6 separate regions of the Homo sapiens genome follow, and all the other regions are linked to region 1. Evidence: promoter capture Hi-C in 16 types of primary human blood cells and fetal thymus (Javierre and others, 2016). All regions are on one chromosome and are shown on one strand. The core of a region is centred on a gene start or on the middle of the fragment in contact, and the rest is flanking DNA. Distances in the headings are between cores, read along the strand shown.

Evidence for each region. Contacts are between HindIII fragments. The CHiCAGO score rates a contact against its expected background, and 5 or more counts as called.
Region 2: a contact is called between a fragment that was not itself captured here and the fragment with the promoter of CSNK1A1L in region 1, in 1 of 17 cell types (activated CD4 T cells). The highest score is 5.4, in activated CD4 T cells.
Region 3: a contact is called between a fragment that was not itself captured here and the fragment with the promoter of CSNK1A1L in region 1, in 1 of 17 cell types (total B cells). The highest score is 9.2, in total B cells.
Region 4: a contact is called between a fragment that was not itself captured here and the fragment with the promoter of CSNK1A1L in region 1, in 1 of 17 cell types (total B cells). The highest score is 5.8, in total B cells.
Region 5: a contact is called between a fragment that was not itself captured here and the fragment with the promoter of CSNK1A1L in region 1, in 1 of 17 cell types (non-activated CD4 T cells). The highest score is 5.4, in non-activated CD4 T cells.
Region 6: a fragment that was not itself captured here is called in contact with the fragment with the promoter of CSNK1A1L in region 1 in 6 of 17 cell types (M2 macrophages, megakaryocytes, total B cells and 3 more); the score reaches 9.7 in M2 macrophages.

What each region holds. Positions count from the first base shown.
Region 1 is chr13:37,103,620-37,107,266 of GRCh38, forward strand. It overlaps CSNK1A1L (casein kinase 1 alpha 1 like), which reads right to left and starts at 2,045. Exons shown (of 1, transcript NM_145203.6): 1 at 1-2,045. The coding sequence starts at 1,637. The coding sequence ends at 624. The HindIII fragment of the contact is 4,821 bases long and covers 1-3,647 here.
Region 2 is chr13:38,919,237-38,922,883 of GRCh38, forward strand. It overlaps the pseudogene ANKRD26P2. Among named protein-coding and RNA genes, the nearest start is that of STOML3, 70 kb to the right of the region's middle. RefSeq lists an enhancer at 1,720-2,919. The HindIII fragment of the contact is 3,143 bases long and covers 32-3,174 here.
Region 3 is chr13:38,875,145-38,878,791 of GRCh38, forward strand. It overlaps FREM2 (FRAS1 related extracellular matrix 2), which reads left to right. Exons shown (of 24, transcript NM_207361.6): 19 at 878-1,005; 20 at 1,104-1,238; 21 at 1,973-2,099; 22 at 2,990-3,177. Among named protein-coding and RNA genes, the nearest start is that of FREM2-AS1, 49 kb to the left of the region's middle. The HindIII fragment of the contact is 5,751 bases long and covers 1-3,647 here.
Region 4 is chr13:38,856,806-38,860,452 of GRCh38, forward strand. FREM2 (FRAS1 related extracellular matrix 2) reads left to right here. Exons shown (of 24, transcript NM_207361.6): 13 at 1,070-1,228; 14 at 2,482-2,785. Among named protein-coding and RNA genes, the nearest start is that of FREM2-AS1, 31 kb to the left of the region's middle. The HindIII fragment of the contact is 2,887 bases long and covers 389-3,275 here.
Region 5 is chr13:38,586,141-38,589,787 of GRCh38, forward strand. The region is part of intron 2 of LINC00437 (long intergenic non-protein coding RNA 437); the gene reads right to left. Among named protein-coding and RNA genes, the nearest start is that of LINC00366, 20 kb to the left of the region's middle. The HindIII fragment of the contact is 3,987 bases long and covers 4-3,647 here.
Region 6 is chr13:38,528,187-38,531,833 of GRCh38, forward strand. No RefSeq gene overlaps it. Among named protein-coding and RNA genes, the nearest start is that of LINC00366, 38 kb to the right of the region's middle. The HindIII fragment of the contact is 1,038 bases long and covers 1,157-2,194 here.

The DNA of each region.
Region 1 (3,647 bases), core at 795-3,294:
TTCTAAAGATAATCTGGTAGTTACTAAGATTTTCTTATGTCTTCACAGGTAAGCAGGCGGAATCTTTCCTATTCTCAAAACTGGAATTTTTGGTTACTACTAGATCAGCTGGCTTACAGACAAGAAGCCAACCATTTTAAGAATGCTCTTTATGTGAACAATTTGCAAACCCCAGGGATGGAGAAACCCTAAAAATGCTCAATCATAAGCATTTACAACCTTTGCAGCTGTGGCTGAATACTGTCCTTCTGAAATGATATCTCAAAGCAGTCTAGTTCAAAATAAAAGGTTTTAACAAAAAATTGGCATATGGACAATGTCTCCACCAATTCGTGTGTGTCAACCATTTAGTTAACTTTTCTACTTGAATAAATGCAATAGAAAACCAGACACCACGTTTCACTACCTCAGTTAATATTCACAATTACAGAGGCTACACTTTGGGATACAGCATCACCAACGCTCCCCAGAGTCAGTTTATATTGAAATAAAGTTTTTTACACCAACTAAATGGTTGTTCACAGCCACTAGCTGGTGTACATATGAACTACAATTTCTAGATGTGGGGAGAAACAAATGCTGCTCGAATCATCTGCTCTGCTTCTTCTGTTCCTCATTCACGCTTAGTTATCTTTCACATTATTCTTGTTTTTTTCAGTTTGCTTGCCTGTCTGGGTTTGGGCCTGCTGACCCTGCCCACTGGAAGAGGCTGCCTGCTGTGCTGCTTTCTGCTTTAACATCGTCCAATCAAATGTGTAGTCATATTGGTGGTTCAGGGTCCTGAAAAGAATGCGGAATAGCTGCCTCAGATACATGTAATCTGGGACTTCCTCAAAGCGCAGCCCACGACAGTAGTTCAAGTACATGGCGAATTCTGCAGGAAACCCCTTACATAAAACTTCAACAGGGGTGGACATCTTCTTCTCACTAATCTTTTCATATTTTTGTTTTTTTGTCATAGCCCTTAGTCCTTGCCACGGCAGGCTGGTTCTATTAAAATACATGAAAACGTAGCCTAAGGATTCCATGTCATCTCGGCGGCTCTGCTCAATACCAAGATGTGCATTGATGCTGGCATATCGGACAGTGCCAATGAGGTGTTTATCTTCTCTGTACGGTATGTGTTGCCTGGTCCTGTTGTCTCTGTACTTTTTGGCCAAACCAAAATCAATAAGGAACAACTTATTACAGTGACGCCCAGTACCCATCAGGAAGTTATCTGGTTTAATGTCTCGGTGTAGAAAATTCTTTGTATGCACGTATTCAATTCTGCTGATCATCTGGTCGGCTAACATAAGTACAGTTTTCATGGTGAACCTTCTTGAACAGAAATTAAAGAGGTCTTCGAGGCTGGGTCCCAGAAGGTCCATGACTAGCACATTGTTGTCTTTTTCCTGACCATACCAGTGCATGTGGGGGATGCCAACCCCACCTTGAAGAATCGTGTAGAGTTTGCTCTCATACAGCAACTGGGGGTGCTTGACCTTCTGAGATTCCAGCTTCACTGCTACGTCCTCGCCGTTGGTGGTGGTGATGCCCAGATAAACGTCTCCAAAGGAGCCAGACCCGATCTTCCGCACCAGTTTGTATTTCCCTCCCACAACGAGTTCGGCTTTGGAGCCGCTGTTGTTTGTCATCCTGAGAGGCAAAGATGGAGGCTGGGCTCAGCCCTGACCCCTCTAGGGGAGGATGGAGGCCTCCGGGGCCCACCGGCCCGCAAGGCTGAGGATGAGGGCTGCTGGAAATGGCCACCGAGGCGTTTCCCGGTGTTACAGGGCGTGGAGTCAGCCTGATCCCTGCAGCACACCAGGATTTCCGCCAGGCCACAGTTTGCGAGGGTTTCTCAAGGTTCCAGGCTGGGCCACCACCTCTTTCTCGGTGGCGGTCGCTGCCTCGCTGTCGTGGCGATGTCGTGGGCTGAGAAAGGGGGCACAGCGAGTTGGGGCAGCAGTACTGCTGCCACCGCTACCAACGGCTGTGGGCCAGAGGGCCCGGTCACGCCGCCGGCGCCGCCATTTTGTTCCTCCACCTCAGCCAACCACAAATCGAGAATTTTTGGAGAAGCTGTTATTGTCTGAGACCTCTGTTAGGTGTTCCACTCATCTCACTCCATTTAAGACAAACTTGCTAGTCTTGTAAGGTAGCTATTATTTTCCCTGATTTGTTGGGTAAGAAAGGCTGAGTCTCAGGTAAGCGGCCTAAGGTTGCAAGAGATTGTGGGCGAGCTGGAATTCAAAACTGCCTAGGCTTAACTCGAAGCTCACCTTCTTTCAACTTAATCGTGCAGAAATGGGAGGCTTTTATAACAAAGATTTTCTTGTTTTCGGGCCCAGTCATTGTCCCATCTACTTCCTTAGCCATCATGTCTCCCTGGGTTAATGCGAGTCGGGGTGCCACCTCTTGAGGTTTTTCTGTGTGATCTCAGTGGTTGCTTCTTTAATGAGTTTAGTCAACAAGAGTTACTTACTGCTAGTTAAATTGAAATGTCTTTTTTTTTTTTTTTAAAGCGATCCTTTTGAAATTTTTTCATAGAGTGCTTTGAATTTAAATAGGATTCCACAGAGACGTTCTGGCAAAACTGACTAAATGAAGGATTCAAGTAAAATTTAACCAAAATATGGAGAAGAAACAGAAGCCGGCAGTTCTGAGCATTTTCTCAGAAGAACTGGGGCCAGCACTAGCAGAAAAAGCGGTACCATTTCAATATTTTTATGAAAGTTCACATCACAAATAACAAAACCCGTGCGATTATTTTGTTTTATGAGGAGATGGGATAGGAACTGAGTATAATCCTAACGGGGCAGTAGCAACGAATTTGGGGGCCAATGGCAGAAAGGCAGGAGAGAGAGGTGCAGCTTTGAAAGCAGGTATTCTCACTTTACTGTCTCACATAAGTTAGTGCTGTTAACTTTTCTGACCTGCATCAATCTATGGCGAGAGAAGGAGCTGGTTTGAGACATAGACGGGCATAGAACATTATAAAGTGCTTTAAAACATTTTTAAAGTCCACTTCAGACAAATATGTGAGGTGGGTAGCGCAGTATATTACTTGGCTTTGCAGCAGGAACAACTCGCAAATCTCAGTGGCTTACAATGACAAAGTTTATTTATCATTCAGGTTTTATGTAAGCTGTAGATCAGCTGCATCTCTGCTTCCTGTGTCCTCTTTGTTCTAGAATGCAGGCTGAAAGAGCAGCCTCCTTAGGAGCATGCTGTTCTCATAATAAAAGGAGTGGCAAATGTTACATTCCACTGGGCAAAACACATCACATGGCCAGGTCCAAAGACAGTGGGGTGAAAATACATACTCCTACCTCAGGTGGATAGTAATACAGTATACTGCTGGCATATTTTATTATTATGATTGTACTTCTCATTTTATACAAGTGGAAATCAAGGCATAGAGAGGTTAGATGAATTGCCCAAGACCACACTACAGACAAGTGTCAGAGGCCAATTTGAAACTGAATTCTGACCCAAGGTAGTTACTTTTTATACCGTACCAACTAGAATGGCATTTCTTTCATTTACTCATCCAACTTTGTTGAAATTTGCCTGGAGAACAATTTCCTTTCTAATAACCAAGAATAAAATTTATGTTGTTAACCCACTGCCCATTATGCTTCCTTCCCGTTCAGTCTTCCAGT
Region 2 (3,647 bases), core at 353-2,852, 1.8 Mb after region 1:
TTATCATGAAGGGATGCTTGATTTTATCAAAAGCTTTGTCCACATCTATGGATATAATCATGTGGTTTATGGTTTTAATTCTGTTTATATGGTGAATCACATTTATTGATTTGCATTTGTTGAGCCAACCTTGCATCTCAGGAATAAAGTCTACTTAATCACAGTGAAATAACTTTTTGATGTGCTGCTGGATTCAGTAGTATTTGGTTGAGGACTTTTGCATCTATGTTCACCAGAGATATTGACCTGTAGTTTTCTTTTCTCGCTATGTCTTTGCCAGGTTTTGGTATCATGTTGACACTGTCTTTATAGAATGAGTTAGGGAGGAGTCCCACCTCCTTGATTTTTTTGGATTAGGTTCAGCAGAATTGGCACCGGCTCTTCTTTGTACAACTGGTAGAATTCAGCTGTGAATCCATCAGGTTTGAGGCTGTTTTCATGGGGGCTTTTTAAGGTTTTCTATTGCTGATTCAATTTTGGAACTCAATATTGGTCTGTTCAGGGTTTCAATTTCTTCCTGATTCAATCTTGGGAGGTTGTAGGTTTCCAGGAATTTACCCATTCCCTCTAGATATTTTAGTTCGTGTGCACAGAGGTCTTCATAATAGTTTCTGAGGATCTTTTGTATTCCTGTGGGATTGGTTGTAATGTCATCTTTGTCATTTCTGATTGTGCTGATTTGGATCTTCTTTTATCTTTGCTCATCTAGCTGGTTGTCTATTGATTTTGTATCCTTTCAAAGACCCAACTTTTGGTTTCATTAATTATTTGTATGGATTTTTGGGTCTCCATTTGCATTCAGTTCTGCTCTAATTTTATTTCTTTCTTTTCTTCTGCTAGCTTTGGGGTTAGTTTGTTCTTATTTTCCTAGTTCCTCTAAGTGTGATGTTATATTGTTAATTTGAGATCTTTCTAACTTTTTGATGTAGGTGTTTAGTGCTGCAGACTTTCCTCTTAATACTCCTTTTCCTGCATCCCAGTGATTTTGGTATGTTGTATCTTTGTTATAATTTACTTCATATAATGTTTTTTATTTCTACTTAATTTTATTGTTTACCCAAAAGTCATTCGGGAGCAAGTTTTTTCATTTTCATATAATTGTGTAGTTTTGAGAGCTCATCCTGGTACTAATTTCTATTTTTATTCCATTGTGGTCTGAGAGTGTGGTTGGTATGATATGGATTTTTTCTAATTTCTTGAGACTTGCTTTACGAGCAAACATGTGTTTGATCTTAGAGAATGTTTTGTGTGCAGAAACAAAAAATATATATTCTGTAGTTGATGAATTGAGTATTCTGTAGATGTCTATTATGTTCAGTTTATCAGGTATCCAATTTTGGTCCAGAATTTCTTTGTTGGTTTCCTGCCTCGATGATCTAATACTCTCTGTTAGTGGGGTGTTGAAGTTCTCCACTATTTATTGTGTGGTTGTACAAGTCTTTTTGTAGGTCTAGAAGTTCTCATTTTATGAATGTGGGTGCTCCAGTGTTGGGTGCATATATATTTCGAATAGTTAAGTCTTCTTGTTGAATTAAACCCTTTATCATTATGTAATGCCCTTCTTTGTCCTTTCTTACTGTTGTTGGTTTAAAGTCTGCTTTACCAAAGAATCACAACCCCTGCCTTTTTGGTGTTCTGTTTGCATAATAGCTCTTTCACCAACCCTTTACTTCAAGCCTATAGGTGTCATTATATGTGAGATGGGTCTCTTGAAGGCAACAAACAGACGGGTCTTGATTTTTTTTCATCCAGTTTGCTACTCTGTACCTTTTAAGTGAGGGCATTTATACTGTTGACATTAAAGGTTAATATTGGTTTCTGAGGTTTTGATCCTATGGCGAAGCTGATAGCTGGTTGCTTTGTCATTTCTATTGCATGGTTATTTTATGCGGTCTGTGAGCTATGTAACTTGTGTGTTTTTGTGTTAGCACACAAAACACATGCTCCACAACAATCTCTGCAAAGGAAGGGTGGGATGGCTCAGCTTACTGGTCCTGGCAAGCAGGTGCTCTGACTGCCTGGAGATATGCCTGGGCATGAAGTAGAGAGGGCCTTGCTGTACCACAATCTCTGTACAGGAAAGGTGTGACAATTCAGGCTGCTGAACCAGGTGAATGGATTCTCTGAATGCCTGGAGAGATTTGCCTGGGCTTGAACCAGGGAGGACTCCTCTCGCACCAGGATCTCTGCACAAAAAGGATGGGGTGGCTTAGGCTATTGCTCCAGGAAAGTGGGTGCTCCAAATGCCTAGAGTTCAGCCTGGGGGGTGGAGCAAAGAGGGACCCACTGTACAACATCTCAGAGGAACAGGTTGGGGCACCCAGCAATGGCACATGCAGACCAGTTCCAGGTCACCAAGCTGGCCCTGGCTGCAAGTCTCATTGAACAGGAGAAACTGCAGAACCCTCTTCATCCCAAACCCAGGCATATCACCAGGCGGCTCTCTTCCTATCCCAGACCTGTGATGGAGGAAAATACAATTCCAGTGCCTACTACTGAGGTGCTTTCCACAATTACCCCAGTGTGGAAACCCCTACCCTTCTCCAGAGCAAGCATGAGAATCTCTGGCCCAGACGAAAATGCCTGAACAGCCATACTGCCAGGTTCCCAAAGAATGTCTGACCCTGTACTCACCCAGATTAAAAATGGTGTCCTGCTCTTGGTCCTGGATCTGGGAAAATATCTGCAGTTTTCCTTGTGTTTCCCTCCCAGCATCTCCAAGCCTCCCCTCAAGTTAGCTGCAGAGTTTGGGAGAAACAAAATGCTCTCCCTTGGCCTGGGTTGCTCAGATCCCCAGTGGAAAGACGAGTCACAGACAGAAGCTCTTTGCCTCTCTCAGGTACTGGAGCTTCGCTCACTTTTATCAGCTGGATACCATCGCGGGGGCGGTTTGCCTGCATTCTTCTCCCTGAGATCTGGGGTGTCCTTCACAATTCCAGTGGATTCCCCTTTTCCTAAGTGAATTAAAGCTCAGGGAGTTGGTCTCTATGCATCATTTTGCTATTTCCAAGTAACTGAGACATGCTAAAAATCATCTGCCATCTTGGAAAGAAAAAAAAAACTTGACTCTTTTGGATGAAGTTGTAGTCTTTCAAATAATAGTTAAACTCAACATTACTATTTAGAGAAACGCTGACAAGCAATTTTAGAACAATATCACTGTCTAAATTATAAAGCTTCAAAATTACTTAGCTTAAAAACTAACAGATCAAGTTAACTACATGAGAATATTAAGGGGAAAAAAAGCCTTATAAAAAAAAAATTGGGAGAGAGATATAAAGTATCCTGGACTAACATTTTAAAGGTAAGTTCATTTACTAACATCATTTTCCAAAATTGTATTATCTAGTTACCTTTCAGTTCCCAGTAATATCTTAAACCTGTCTCACTAAAAATTATGCTTTCGAGGCAAATTAATGAGCTTAATTTATTTTCTATGATTCTATGTTTTGACTTACGTGTTTAGTTCATATAACAAAGATTCTCTTTTAATTCTTCTAGATATAGCTGCTTCTGTTTTTCTAATTCGCTATCACTAAAGTTTTCTTGAGCAATTTACATTTGGGACTGCTCAGCTTCCAGAGCTTTAATTTTGAGTTCCATCTTATTTATTGAAGTAATATCATGCCATCTTAACTGCTCTAAAT
Region 3 (3,647 bases), core at 551-3,050, 1.8 Mb after region 1:
CATTTGTTTTTTGTTTTTTTTTAACAAGGACATTTCACTAGAAAGAGCTTATTTTTTATTTGACTCTCCATATTACCAGTTTAGTAACATGGAGAGTCAAATAAAAAATAAGCCATTTTTCTGCCAGCTTATATTAGATTGGGAAAGGGAAAATAGTTCACTCAACATCTTTATAGCTTTTCTTTTTCTGGACTTGAACTCTAACAAAAGAGAATAGGGCTGAATAATTAGGAAGAGAAAGAGGCTTCATTGTATTTTTATGGAACTGAGCTACAAGAAAGAAAGAACCCAAAAAAATCATTTTGCTTTATTGTATTTGACAGTTCTGGAAAATGAGGATTTTCTGGTCTATACAGTTTTCTTCTACATGCCTACCTTTCTAATAAACTGAATCTTTGTGTAGCCATGATTGCAGGCAATCTAACTAAAATCAGACTCCATTCATAAATTGGGTTTGCCCAGCTGTGTGGATACTAATAGACTATTTTAAGTTCAGCTCGTAACTTCAGTGCACAATAAATGCATTCACATCACCCTTTATTGTGCTGCTGTGACTCCCCAGAAAGTAGCTCTGAACAATTTGAGCATTTCTGTACAATTATCTTTTGACAAAACTATAGAGCAGAAACAGTACTGAAGTAGGAATCAGAAAGTCACATCCTAGCTGTGTGATCTTTGGAAAGTCACACAGTCACTCACAGCCCAGTTTCTTCATCTGCCAGAGGAGGATAATTATACTAACCATGACTGCTTTGCAGCCTTCTTATAAAAACAGAAGCAAATAATGTATGATCATTTATTTTGAAAACTCTAAACTGTTATGCACTCTTTTAATTGAACCACTATATCATTATTATAATTACTGGCACTTTCCTAGCATCCTTTACAAGCTCAGTGATCATGTCAGCTGATCATCCAGGCCTGACATTTTCCCTCCGCCTCATAAGGAGTGAACCAACCTATAACCAGCCAGTACAGCAGTGGAGCTTTGTCTCTGACTTTGCCGTAAGTGACTAAGACTCTTAATTAATTTTCTTCTGCTGCTGCCATCTGATTACACCTCAGATTTTTAAATGTAATATATCAATATCTTCTCCTCAAAGGTACGTGACTACTCAGGGACCTATACTGTGAAGCTGGTGCCATGCACTGCCCCATCACATCAGGAATACCGCCTGCCAGTCACCTGCAACCCCAGAGAACCTGTCACCTTTGACCTTGACATCCGATTCCAACAGGTGTGGCTTATAGAATTACTATCTTATGACTTGCAGAATCCCACTTTGTTTTTCATTTATTAGTAAAAAAAAAAAAAATCCACACGTGAATGACTTTAATTCTTGCATGCTGAAAAGAAAAGAAATCAGACAGTTAAGGAAGCTAGGGATAAAAGAATGAGGAGAGATTTGCCCTTTATCTGTTGTTAGTACAGGATGTAAAATTCAGAGTTTAAATGTATGCAATGGTTATTTTTTTCTTATCTGATCTTATCTTGTGTCCTCCTGAAGTTTGCTGTCTTGGAGATTTGAGAATTTTCCCCGCACTTCTGCATTTCTTTTCTTGTTCTTCTCTAAAGAGAATGAAATCCTGTAGCTCAAACCACCTCAAAGTACCTAATTGCCATTATGTATTATAAAAAATGTGATGGCATCTTTTTTTCAAGAATTTTTACTGTTGGCCTTCTACTGACAATGATATTTACAAGTCCTTTATATACCCCAATAAACCAGTGGAAATGAGCTCAAGCAATGCTGTTTAGTCCCATTCAAAAAATGACTTGATCCCACCAGTTTTGCCTTCTCAAGGACAAAAGCAATGTTACAACTCTCTGAGTTAGCTTGGTAGGGTGTGAAAATTGCGATGCAGTGTTTAGTGTTCTACAGTGTACGGTGAATGTATGTATCTGTGAACAGTATGTTTGTGCACCATCAGAACCACTGATGCATAAAAGAACTTTTACCTTTGGTTTTAGGTCAGTGATCCAGTGGCTGCTGAGTTTAGCTTGAACACCCAAATGTACCTGCTCTCTAAGAAGAGTCTCTGGTTGTCTGATGGATCCATGGGATTCGGGCAAGAGAGTGATGTTGCTTTTGCAGAAGGTATCACTTTACAAATGAGAGGGATGCTCTGTTTGTCATGTATATCTTTTGTGCTTTGCTTTTTGGGGATTGTGTTTGAGGGGGCAAATTATAGCTTTTTTTATGGTTTTGAGAATGTAACTGGGTCTTTACCCACTCTGGCTGGTGTGGGAAGTCGTTGCGATTGGGTATATGTAACTGGGTATCTTTTTTTTCTGAGGAAGCTAATCTCTAGCTGTCTTACCTAAGTGACTTTTGGAACAAGTCTAGATGATTTTCTCGAATGTTTTTTTTCAATCTGTGTAAACTTAAATGCTGCAGCTACATGAGACTGTAAATGCCTCTCAGGCAAAGATTGTGCCTGCCTTACTCAATGGTGTATATTCAGCACCCAGCACACATACCTAGCAGAAATACCTGGCACTCATGGTAGGGGTTCAATAATAGTTATGAAATAAAGAATTGAACACCAGGGGGTTTCATTAAACCCTCTTTCAGAAACAAATAACGTTAATTAGGCTTTGTATTGATACTTTCTTTCTTAGTGTTATTCTATATTGTATCAGTATATATCTTATCAACTTATTTTTGTAAACTGGACTTGGACCACAATGGGATATTATTAATGCCAAATTATAGGCCAGATCTTTGAAATTATTCACACTAGTGGCTGAGCATCTGAGACTCAATAAATCTTTAGTCACTTCTGGTCAGTCTGCAAAGTGGTCTTACCTGAGGCCTGAGAATGTACCAGATCTTGAAGCTCATGCAAACAGGCCTTCAACATTTGATAGTAGATGAGGGTGGCAAGGAAATAATCTCTGTGTCCTCATTGTCATAACCTGTTTACAGTGTCACGTTGATATACCTTATCATATAACAGAAATAACATTTCCACATCTCTATTTCAGGTGATATAATTTATGGTCGTGTCATGGTGGATCCTGTCCAGAATCTGGGTGACTCCTTTTACTGCAGCATTGAGAAGGTGTTTCTATGCACTGGAGCTGATGGCTATGTTCCCAAGTATAGTCCAATGAATGCAGAATATGGCTGCTTAGCCGACTCTCCTTCACTCTTATATAGATTTAAAATTGTGGTAAGTGCTTTGACCCAAAAAATGAGCTAGATAGATTTTTCAAAGTTCAGCCTCCTTGTCTTATATTTAAAAACAAGGCTGGGCACAGTGGCCACACTATAGTCCCAGCACTTTGGGAGGCCAAGGTAGAAGGATCACTTGAAGCCAGGATTTCAAGACCAGCCTGGGCAACATAGTGAGACCCCATCTCTACAAAAAATTTTAAAAAATTAGCCGAGCATCGTGGCACATGCCTGGAGTCCCAGCTACTTGGGAGGCTGAGGTGGGAAGATTGCTTAAGTCAGGAAGTTCAATCTATGATCATGCTACTGCACTCTAGCCTGGGTGACAGAGAAGGTCCCCGTCTCTTAAAAAAAATAGAAAAACCAACAAAATGATCATTTTTAGTAAACCAAATGGTGACATTTTATAGTAATTTGTACTTGCACAAAACAAATAGAGAAACATGCTGTCCTGGCAAAAGCCGTGGC
Region 4 (3,647 bases), core at 582-3,081, 1.8 Mb after region 1:
ACATAATTCCACAGAATGTTGACCTTTATATTGGAAATAATTTTTAAAACTACGTGTCTTTTTGGAATGTATTAATTTTTTATGTCTTTGCTTACATTTACTGTATTACTTTTTTTTATTTGTTTCACTTTAGTATGAGTTCAAGCTGGGAAACGTTTTTCCTTAAATATTTTTATCATTTTGTAATCTTTACTGCTTGATGGTTTTTCTACTACAGTGCCTTGCTTTTTATCAAGTTATTTAAAACTCAAGTATGGGCAATCTTTATCAAATATAGTTTTGTGTCTTCATCACATAAGATGAATCTTTTATTATTATTTTTATGGAGTAGCGTATGAAATTCTTTTGGGTGAAAAGGATAGTCACTCAAATTACTTCCAGCGATGAAAGCTTCTTTTAAAAATATACACGTAAAGATAGTTCAGGAAACTATGCTATGTAGTCAGATGTTGGAAGGTTATTAGGGAGCCAGGGCAAACTCACAGCAAGGTGTTCTTGTCACCTTGCCCAGCAGCAGGTGTTCATAGATTCCTCTTCTGTCTGGAACTCAAATTCTCCCCTGCCTGGGTTTCAGGCAGTGCCTTCTGCCCTTGGCTGCTTCAAAGAGTTTCTTATTACTGGCATCTGCTTCATCCAGGCTCACACTATCCCATGACCTCTGTGATATTCCTTCCTTCAGAATGTCCTCCAGCTTTACTCCCACTGTCAAAGAATTGACTCCTTCATAAAATTTCCCTTCACAACCCCAAGACACATTTAGCTACTGTCATCACAACTGGAGAAAAAAAAATAAATTAGAGCCCAAACACCTCATGGGCCGCTGGCCAACCTTTGGATTGACTGCCCTGGGCTCAGCTGCCCTCCCTGGAACCATAAGATGTGAACAAGGTGCCAAGGTCATGTGCTGCAGGCCACTTAGGGCCTGTTGCTCTCCAGGGGCTCTGAGTATGACAATTTGCATCATAACGAGGCCATGGGGTTGCCAGGGATCGTGAGTATTGTTCTGTGTGGTAGAAGCATCAAAAGTTTAATATTTCACTAATCAGTGATAATTGTCTTTTCCTTCTAGTTGACGAAAGCCATTGTGTACATAGAAGAAATGAGCAGCATGGCAGATGTCACTTTTCCTTCTGTCCCTCAAATTGTATCCCTGTTGATGTATGACGACACTTCCAAAGCTAAGGAGAGTGCTGAACCCATGTCTGGCTATCCTGTCATCTGTATCACAGTGAGTAGGAGATTCACAAAATTGAGGAAAATTGTAAGATAATTATTTCAAATAATTATAATCAATATAGCATTGGCTTTGTTATGAAGAAATGAAAGTAGAAAAATACTACATGGTTTAAGCCTTGAGCTTTGCATATATAACACTAATCAAATAAAGCTCCCATTTTTCTTTCTTCACCGAACAAAGGTTCATTAACTGATGTGTACATAGTGTGTTATCTCAGTCTGTCACCAATAGAAAAATAAATAAGATATGAAGTCTGCATTCAAGATATTTAGAGATGAAGAAAAGAATATAGGAATTGGTAACTCTAATATAAGGCAAGATATAACCACTATCATGAAAATGATACAAATTAGAAGTCAGAGCTGCAGCTCCATATATGAGGGGAGGTTTGGGATGGTCAGGTGGAATTTTGACTCTTTAGGATGCAAGTCTGATAAGGGAAGGTCATTCTAGGAAGAAGGGACTGCAACGTGAGCTACAGCTAGAAAAAAATAGCATAAGAAATAGCAAATTATCACTACTTTCAAAATTTGCCTTTTCTTGACTCTAAGTTTAAGCTCCTTGTGAGCTAAAATTATGACTTACTTATGTTTATATTACAACAGCACTTCTAAAATCACTTATACAATACATGTTTATTGAGTCAACAAGGCAGAGATAATTTGGCGTCAAAGTATAGGGAGTTTTAAATGTCATATTAAGAAATTTGGACTTCATTTGTTGGGTAGCGAAGAGTTCTCACATGGAAGAATGATCAGAGGGGTTAAACTGGCAGGTTAACAGGGCAGTCGTGTGTCAGTGGACTGGAAGAAAAGATGCTGAATTAGACAGAGAAGTGCTGCTGGAAATGGAAAGGAAGGCATCAACTTAAGCAATACTGTTAAAGAAGAATCAGCCGAGTTCATGACTTACTGGATAAGGGGGGTAAGATGAGCGACAGGAAGCGGGGGAGGAAAAAAGAGAGAATAAGGATAACTGGCAAATCTGATGATTCAAGAGATTATGGTATAAATAACAATTTTACACATATTAAGTTAGAAATAGAAACATCCAATAAGCTGTTTGAAATGCAAGATTATGTTTATAAATGTTATCATGCCTGGGGATCAAAATTCGGAAGCTGTATAAACAGCATGTGGAAATTGGGGAAAGCAGCAGTGAAAACTCGATGGCAGAGAACGGGAGAAGAATGCGTTCCACCTGTTCTACACTCTGTTCCTAACACAGTCATTTGTTTTCCGTAGGCTTGCAACCCCAAATATTCAGACTACGATAAAACAGGCTCTATCTGTGCAAGTGAGAACATCAATGACACTTTGACGCGGTACCGGTGGCTGATTAGTGCACCTGCGGGCCCTGACGGTGTGACCAGCCCTATGAGAGAAGTGGACTTCGACACCTTTTTTACGTCATCCAAGATGGTCACACTGGACTCCATATACTTTCAGCCTGGCTCCCGGGTACAGTGCGCAGCTCGTGCTGTGAACACCAATGGGGATGAAGGCCTGGAGCTCATGAGCCCTATTGTAACCATCAGCAGAGAAGAAGGTCAGTCATTGCCATTTTCCCCTGAAGATCACTGGAATACTGTGCAATATTACAAATGTCTACTTTCTGGTTATTAATACTTCCAATGTCCCACATATTCCATATATTTTGTAAGTAGTGAAAAATTAAAATCTATTTTTACAAAATTATGTATTAGAAAACAAAATATTTATTCATTCTACCTTTAAGTATCTATTATATGCCAGACACAATGCTTTGTGCTGGCAATAAAATAAAGAAGACAGGATCCCTGCTTTTGAGGAATTCTTGGTCCAGTTGAAGATGCAGACACATTTTAGTCTAGACAGGGCACAGGAATGCACAGGTAGAAGTGATTAGTTTTACCCTGAGTGGGTCAGGAAAGGCTTATCAAAGAGGGGAGGCTCAAGCTGAATCTGAAAAGAGTAGAGGAAAACAAGCATGAGCAACAACTCATAAAAGCAAGAAAGAATGCGGGATATTGTGGGAATGGCAAGCAGAGAAATGGGGAAGCTTCTGAGAGGGAGAGGAGGAAAAACCAGGAGACAAGGCAAAATGGTATGCAAGGCTCAGATCTGAACAGAGCTCATGCCATGCAAGGAAACCAGCTGGTTGTTGGGTGAGTAGGATTTTGCTGGGGACGGGAGGGGAAGGGCAGTCCAGATAGAGGGGTACGTGCAAATTAACACCTTGGTATTACAAGAGAGACTGTATTTAAGGCTGGAGCAAAGACACATTGGGGATGGAGAATAGGATGTGGCTGGGGACAACATTGGAAAGACAGGAAATCCACTGTATAAATAAATCCTTCACTCTGCAGAATAATTTTTAATGAGATTTTTCTTAAAAACGGTTGTATATATTTGATTCTATTTCTAAATCA
Region 5 (3,647 bases), core at 747-3,246, 1.5 Mb after region 1:
ACAAGCTTTCTCAATGAGAATGCAATACAAGATTAAAAGAGAAATCGTTGAAAATACAATTTCTTTTTTTTTTAATAAAGAAAAAAGGTTTAATTGACTCACAGTTCCACATGGCTGGGGAGGCCTCAGGAAACTTACAATCATAATGGAAGGCACTTCTTCACAGGGCAGCAGGAGAGAGAATGAGAGTTGAGCAAAAAGGAAAGCCCTTTATAAAACCATCAGATCTCATGAGAACTCACCCACTATCACAAGAATAGTAGGGGGAAAACCACCCTCATGATTTAATTATCTCCACCTGGTCTGGCCCTTGACATGTGGGGATTATTACAATTGAAGGTGGGATTTGGGTGGGGACACAGAGCCAAACCAGATAAAATATTTTTAGTTATACAAAAGTTTTGAATGAGAATGAAAATGGCTTATTTGTGTTTCCTTGGCTTTAACCACATGCTGATTGTACTTCAGGAAGAGTCTCTAAAATTGTAAAAAAGAAACTTCAAAAACACGCTCAAATGGTTTCTACTCTGCCAAAATTGCTGGGCTTTAGATTATCCAAAATGAAACTTGCATTTCTGGCCATGGATGATTTGACTGAGGATTCATGCCTTCATTGCCTAAGGCAATTACAGATGGATTTGGTACTAGAGAAGACATCCACTTCCACCTAGTCTGTTTGAAACCCCATGCAATAGGAGGGCCTCTTGTGAACAAATCAAATCCTCTTTTTAAGGAAATAAAAATTATCGATGAAAATGGAGATACGTCTCCTTTGGTCTGGCCATTATGCGAAATAAAACTCAGTAAACTTATCACCTGTTCAAGGTAGCACTTATTTGCTCCCTTGTAGCTGTCAGATAGCTGCACAAAATTTAAAAAATATATTTTACTGAGGTTTTCTAGTTTTTCCCAGTGTGAAGAAATGGCCTGTAACAAGCTAGTCTTAACACTACCAGCAATGGACATTCTGTCATAGGTGTTTGTTTTTTAAGTAAAAAAAAAAAAAAAAAAAAAAAAAAGAAAGTAAAATGATACAAAATTGAAATCCAGCTTTGTCATCTGTTAAGTTCGAAAATTTTTGTGTATTTCTTAGTAAATCCTCCAGTTTATTTGTTTAATCAGGATAAAATTACAACATTTTACATATCATATTTTATTATGTCTTGATTCTTTAATATAACATATATTCACATTTTATACTTATTTACTGTATTCATCTTTTCTTTAAGGTCCTTTGAAATTTCATATTTTTTTATTTTTTATTTTTTATTTTTTTGAGATGAGGGCTTGCTATGTTGCCCAAGGCTGATCTCAAACTCCCGGGGTCAAACACTCCTCTTGCCTCAGCTCTTGAGTAGCTGAGACTAGAGGAGTGCACCACCATGCCTGGCTCCATACAAATATTATAGCTGTCAATTTTTTTGAAAATATCTTTGCAACTTTACTTGGAATCACTTGAATGTACACATTGATTAAAATAGAGGTGATTTTCTGAGAATACAATTTCTAAATAGAAAATGGGAGGATTATGAATAATTTTAGTATATTATCACATTCATAAAGAGTATCACTGACTAATATAATTATCTTAGAGCTGATTTATGACTAGGTCCATCCATTGATAGAACTCAGGATAAAAGAAACATATTTTGAATAGTTTTTGCTTGTTGAATTATGGGCTTATTTGTTCCTTGTGCTGTCCATGCATTTATATGGCACATCATGTAAAGAACATGGCATCTGGAGTCAGGCAGCCTAGAAGTGAGTTCCAGCTCTGACCACTGGTTATGATGTTGTAAGGGGAAAAAAAATCACTTCTTGTGGCTATATTTTCATCTAAAAGTTACAGTAAAATTTCACACTACTTAATAGTTAAGACTGTGGTTTTAGAGTTAGAAAAACTTGAGTTTTAATTCCAGCTGTGTTTCATCCCAGCTGTGTGACAGTGGCCAAATACTCAACCTGTCAATGCTTTAATTTCTCCATTTGTAAAGTGAGAATAATACATAATAACTATATAATAACAATTTTAAATGACAGGATAACAGTGAGACTTGAATGCAACACTGCATATGAAATTCTTAGCACATTATTATGCAGACTAAAAAATTTTAAAAAGTTAACTCTTTTTGGATTACCTTGTGGCCTAAGGGATAGCACTGCACGCTATGGCCACTCAAATGCTAATTTAGCATTGGTGTGATTACAACAGCATTCCAACAATATCACATATGTACACAAAACATATACTTTATATTCACCAACCATCAAGATCAAGAGGTAAAGCTAAAAAGTATATTTACAAGAAATACAGTGGCTCATTAATTCTTAACTTAGGGAATGTCCTAGTTCATTACTTAAAAATAAAAATAAAAGCACACAAGCAAGTTCACAAGGATTTTAAGTAGGGCAACCTCCACGTCAATTTCTCTTAAAGTAAGGTGGGTGGGGGCAGCTGCCCACACATCTACAGTATAGAAAGCCTATTTGCTTTAACAACAGAGGCTTTCCCCTAACACTCTCTACTCAGAGAAGCCCCTCTACCAGTCATCATAGAAGACCAGCCATTTAGAAATTAAGACCTTAGAAAATGATTTGTCAATCTTATCTTAATATTCATATAGTATTCATCTTCCATTTCTCAGTCTCAATTAACCTTCATTATTCATAGCCTTGCTTAACTACTTAATATTCTCAAGACCACATGTACTTTGGACATTTCCCCCCTCTACCTAGAACATTGTCCCCTCTTCACTACCCACCACCACATGCCCATCTGACTCATGACCTCCTATATATAATCAAACTTTTCCTTTAAATTTCACCTCTTCCTGCTTGCTTTCCTTGGTTCCCACAGGGGAAATTAAGAACTTAATCATCTGTCTTTAATGCTACCTATGTAGCTCAGCTATATTTCTTCTTGAATTTTGTTTTGTGTTTCGGCATGTCTTTGTTCCCTCACCAGACTATAAACTAGGGGATAAGGGGCTCCTGCCTATTCATTTTTGTATTTATGTTTGTTTACTTGTCTATTTTTTCTTTGAAGTATGTGAACTACTTACTTCATCAACATTATTAAAGTTGAATTTTCTCCTGCATGCATTTTAATACACAGCCACGTGTGGCATAATGACGTTTTGGTCAAAGAAGAACCATGGGCCGGGCACGGTGGCTCACGCCTGTAATCCCAACATTTTGGGAAGCTGAGGCAGGCAGATCACGAGGTCAGGAGATTGAGAACATCCTGGCCAAAATGGTGAAACCCCGTATCTACTAAAAATACAAAAATTGGCTGGGCATGGTGGTGCACACCTGTTGTCCCAGCTACTAGGGAGCCTGAGGCAGCAGAATCACTTGAACCCAGGATGCGGAGGTTGCAGTGAGTCGAGATTGCACCACTGCACTCCAGCCTGGTGACAGAGTGAGAGTCGGACTCAAAAATAAATAAATGAATAAATAAATAAATAAATGGGACCGCATGTATGATAGTGGTCCTGTAAGACAAAAAATCCTATCCCTTAGTGATGTAGTAGCTGTCCTAATGCAGTGGCATAATACATTACTCATGTGTTTTTGGTGTTGCTGGTGTAAACAAACCTATTGCACTGTCAATGGTATAAAAGTATAGCACATACAATTATGCACAA
Region 6 (3,647 bases), core at 426-2,925, 1.4 Mb after region 1:
AATACCTATATAGAGATATTATAACTACAAATAACTGTGGTAGGAGCCACGGCTGGAAAATTTCACTGTTACTTAAATAAAACCAAGCCAGTGTCTACAGTAAGTCAACCAATGAGCAACATGGAACCCAAGCACCTCCCTTGAAATCAGGTTTCATTTATTGAAAAAAGGAAATGAGATTCTTGGGAAGCTAGAAGGATACTCATTTTCAAATCAGATTCAATGAACACAAATCTCAAACGGAAGCACTATACAATTCAAAAATAATACTGAGGTGTTTAAGGAAACACCTGGAACCTGCTTTTGGAGGAGTCAATCAGAATGCTTTGCATTGTAGAGGAAGAAGGATTCTCCAAGAGAAAATCCACACTCCTGCACCTCATGGCAAGTACTGTGTACAAAAAGCTGTATGCACTGCCCAAAGAAAGAGGAAAAATCTCAGGGGCTTCCACTCATTCCTGAACAATCTACAAAGCATGAGAATGATAGTTGCTATTGTTGTTCCTTTCTTCTTCCCTCCATCCCTCCCTCCTTCTCTCCTTCCTTTCTTCCTTCCTTCATTCCTTCCTTCTTTTCCTTTCTTTCCTTTGACTTGTTCATTCATTTGCTTTTAGACTCACTGTGTTAGAGATCAGTTATAGAATTAGTTAATAGAATTGATATTCAATTAATAGATTCAATATAAATTAATGAAAACTACATTTTACACTTAAAATAAGTTCAATAAAATTATATATGATTTTGTAAGATTTTGATATAAAATTTTATATTTTCTCATCAAAGAACAGGTGAAAAGAAAATACTTTATGTTTATTTACATTTCTCTTTTTCTTATCTAATTAGCTCTGCTAAAGATTTTGTACGTATCTTAGTCTTGTCCCACATTATCTTTGCTGACTCTTGCTTTTTTATTTCAAGGTCTTTCCTCAGACTCTGCTCAGGAACTCGCTCAAAGTTCAATTTAAGAGTCTACTGTAGAGATTTGCATCCTTTGATTCCATCCAGCATTAGTCACCTGCTTTAATTGCCACATGACAATGCTTTGCCACTGGCTGCTCAAAGCTGTGTCTCTTCTGACCAACCTGGTGTTTGATCTGTTCCCCTTTGATTTGCACAATTCATTAAAATTTTATATTCTACAGTAATGTTGATAGTAAGCTTTAAATTCCTTTTGCTAAGAAATATAACCTCAAAATCACAAATATCTCACCATTATGTGTTATTGAATAACAACAGAATTTGACTTTGATTGATGTGAGTTGGAAAAAAAATCGGCATTTTACAGAATCAGCAGGAGGCCTCGTAACATATGCTTTATGTTACATAGCTGAGAACAAAAGCCTAAATCATACACAGAATTTATCTGATGAGGAAACATAAATATTTCAGTGTGCATTGTGGGCCCTAATGCTCTGAGAATTATCACTGTAACATAGACTCATGACTTTACGCTTCTCTGGCCCCAGTGAGCTCCCAATCCCACTTGTGGAACAGGTGAATGTGATTATTAGAGTTTCCATGCCTAGTGCAAAGAAGGATGGAAAAATGAGCATCTCTAATTTTCTGTTTCTATAAGGTTGATTCTGCTCCCTCTAAGACTCAGATCTCTTAATACTATTCCAAATATAGGCAGAGAATGCAAATACTGAGCAGTCAAAAAAAAATGACAAATGTCTACTACAGCATCTGAGTTGAAAATTCTTGCCATATCGTACAGAATCAAAAATGCCAATACACTGCCAGACTACCCAGTTTCCCAAGTAGCATAAACATGGATTCTTATTTAGCCATGTTCTTGGCCAGTTTCCCACGGGACACACACACACATACACACATACATAACACAAGGAAAATGAAATCACAAAGATACTTGCTCCTAAACTGCAACTGGAGCATGAATTTGTCTAAATGCTTAACTATTCCATGAAAAATAAAATATGACTAGATATTAATCAATTGGGAGTATTTTTAGTATGATTTTTGTTCATCTTGTTTTTTTGCTTGCTAATGACAGTTTTGTATGCCACTTCAGGTTAATTTTGAAAAATAAATACTGGATTAAATGCATTAATATACTCTTATAATCATAACCCTGGAAAGGGTCTTATTACTGTTGAATAAAATCAACAGAAATACGATGAGTTTATGAGTCATAACCTATGCAAAATACAAGGCACTTTTTTTAAATAGGAAAAGCTTAAATTGTTAGACATAACTAAGCAAGAGTATACAGTTTTAGTATGCATAAACCAGAAGTGTTACAATTTTATATCCATGAAGTAGGATATTGAATCATGAGCCCATATAAAAAGGAAAATTCAGTTATCATTTTCATTTTCTCTTCTTGTAAATATTCACATGGTACACTAAATTGTCATTTTGTTTTATTTTGTTTTAATTAAGGGATGTAGTCTCATTCTTTAATTTAACTGTGTTAAGCAAACCAAATAGTTGAAATAAATCCAATGCACCACCGTTGCCCGAAACCTCTACTGTTATATAGTACACCAGCACACTCTATTGGACACATAAGATAATAAATGTGGTCTCCAAAGCAACATTTTAATGTCATTAAATTCTGCTATTTATTTCATTGACAAAGTATTCTTTTTTATACTTACTTTATAGAATAAGCAGAAATTACATGATATTCATGGAGAAATTCAGGATTTTGATATAGACGAGAATAAGAAATGTAAAAATTATGGCCATTTTCTACATACGTAGAGCTTGACCCAATAAATTGCGGGACAATGGGATGAGGATTGAGAAATGCCTTCAGATCAGGAATCGTCTTGCAGAGCAGACAGACCAAAACTAAGAAATTACCCATTCAACCAACATTTTTTGAGTGCCCACTATCTGTAAGATGGGCTAATCCCGTGTGTACAAAAATGGCTAAGACATAGGTCTGCCCCAGCACTCTGAAAAAATTGTTAGAGCCAAAATATTTATAAAGTTTTTCTGGTCCTACATGAGCAAAATATGGATACAGCTCAATTTTTAGATGTCCAATGCCATAATTCTTGTGGCATATTTTGAGGAATTTAAAATTTTGTTCTCAGAAATAAGATAGAGAAGGTGTCAATTTAAGACCGTGGACTCTGGGGCACTTGTACCCACATCTGCCTGTGATTTTCTTTGGTACTTTAAGTAAAACGATTCTAGACTCATTTAATTATCTAGAAATTGTAAATGTCACTTAGGATGATAGTAAAACTGAGTTTTTTAGTGCTTATAATATGCTAAGCTTTTTTCTAAGGGCTTAGAATGTGTTTTCTCATTTCGTCCACACAGCAACCCTATCAAATATTACTATTTTTTCCCACTTTGCTGATGAAAAGACTGAGGCATGAAGAACTTAAACAAATATCTGAAGATTACACAGCTTTTTAAAATAAATGACAGAGTTCGGGTTAAAACCCAGGGTGTCTGATAGGAGGGCTCTTTCTCTTAGGGTACATCACAGGATATTTCTGTGATCAATTTATTTCATTCAAATGTGGGAAGGATAGCGAATGCTCCACAGCAGCTTTCAGGCTTTTAGAATATCAGGGATCTATACAGAAAAGGGGGCATCTAATTGTCTGTGGCTGAGGACTCATTATAATAACCCAAACTAATTGGTTTGTAACTTGTAGCCATTT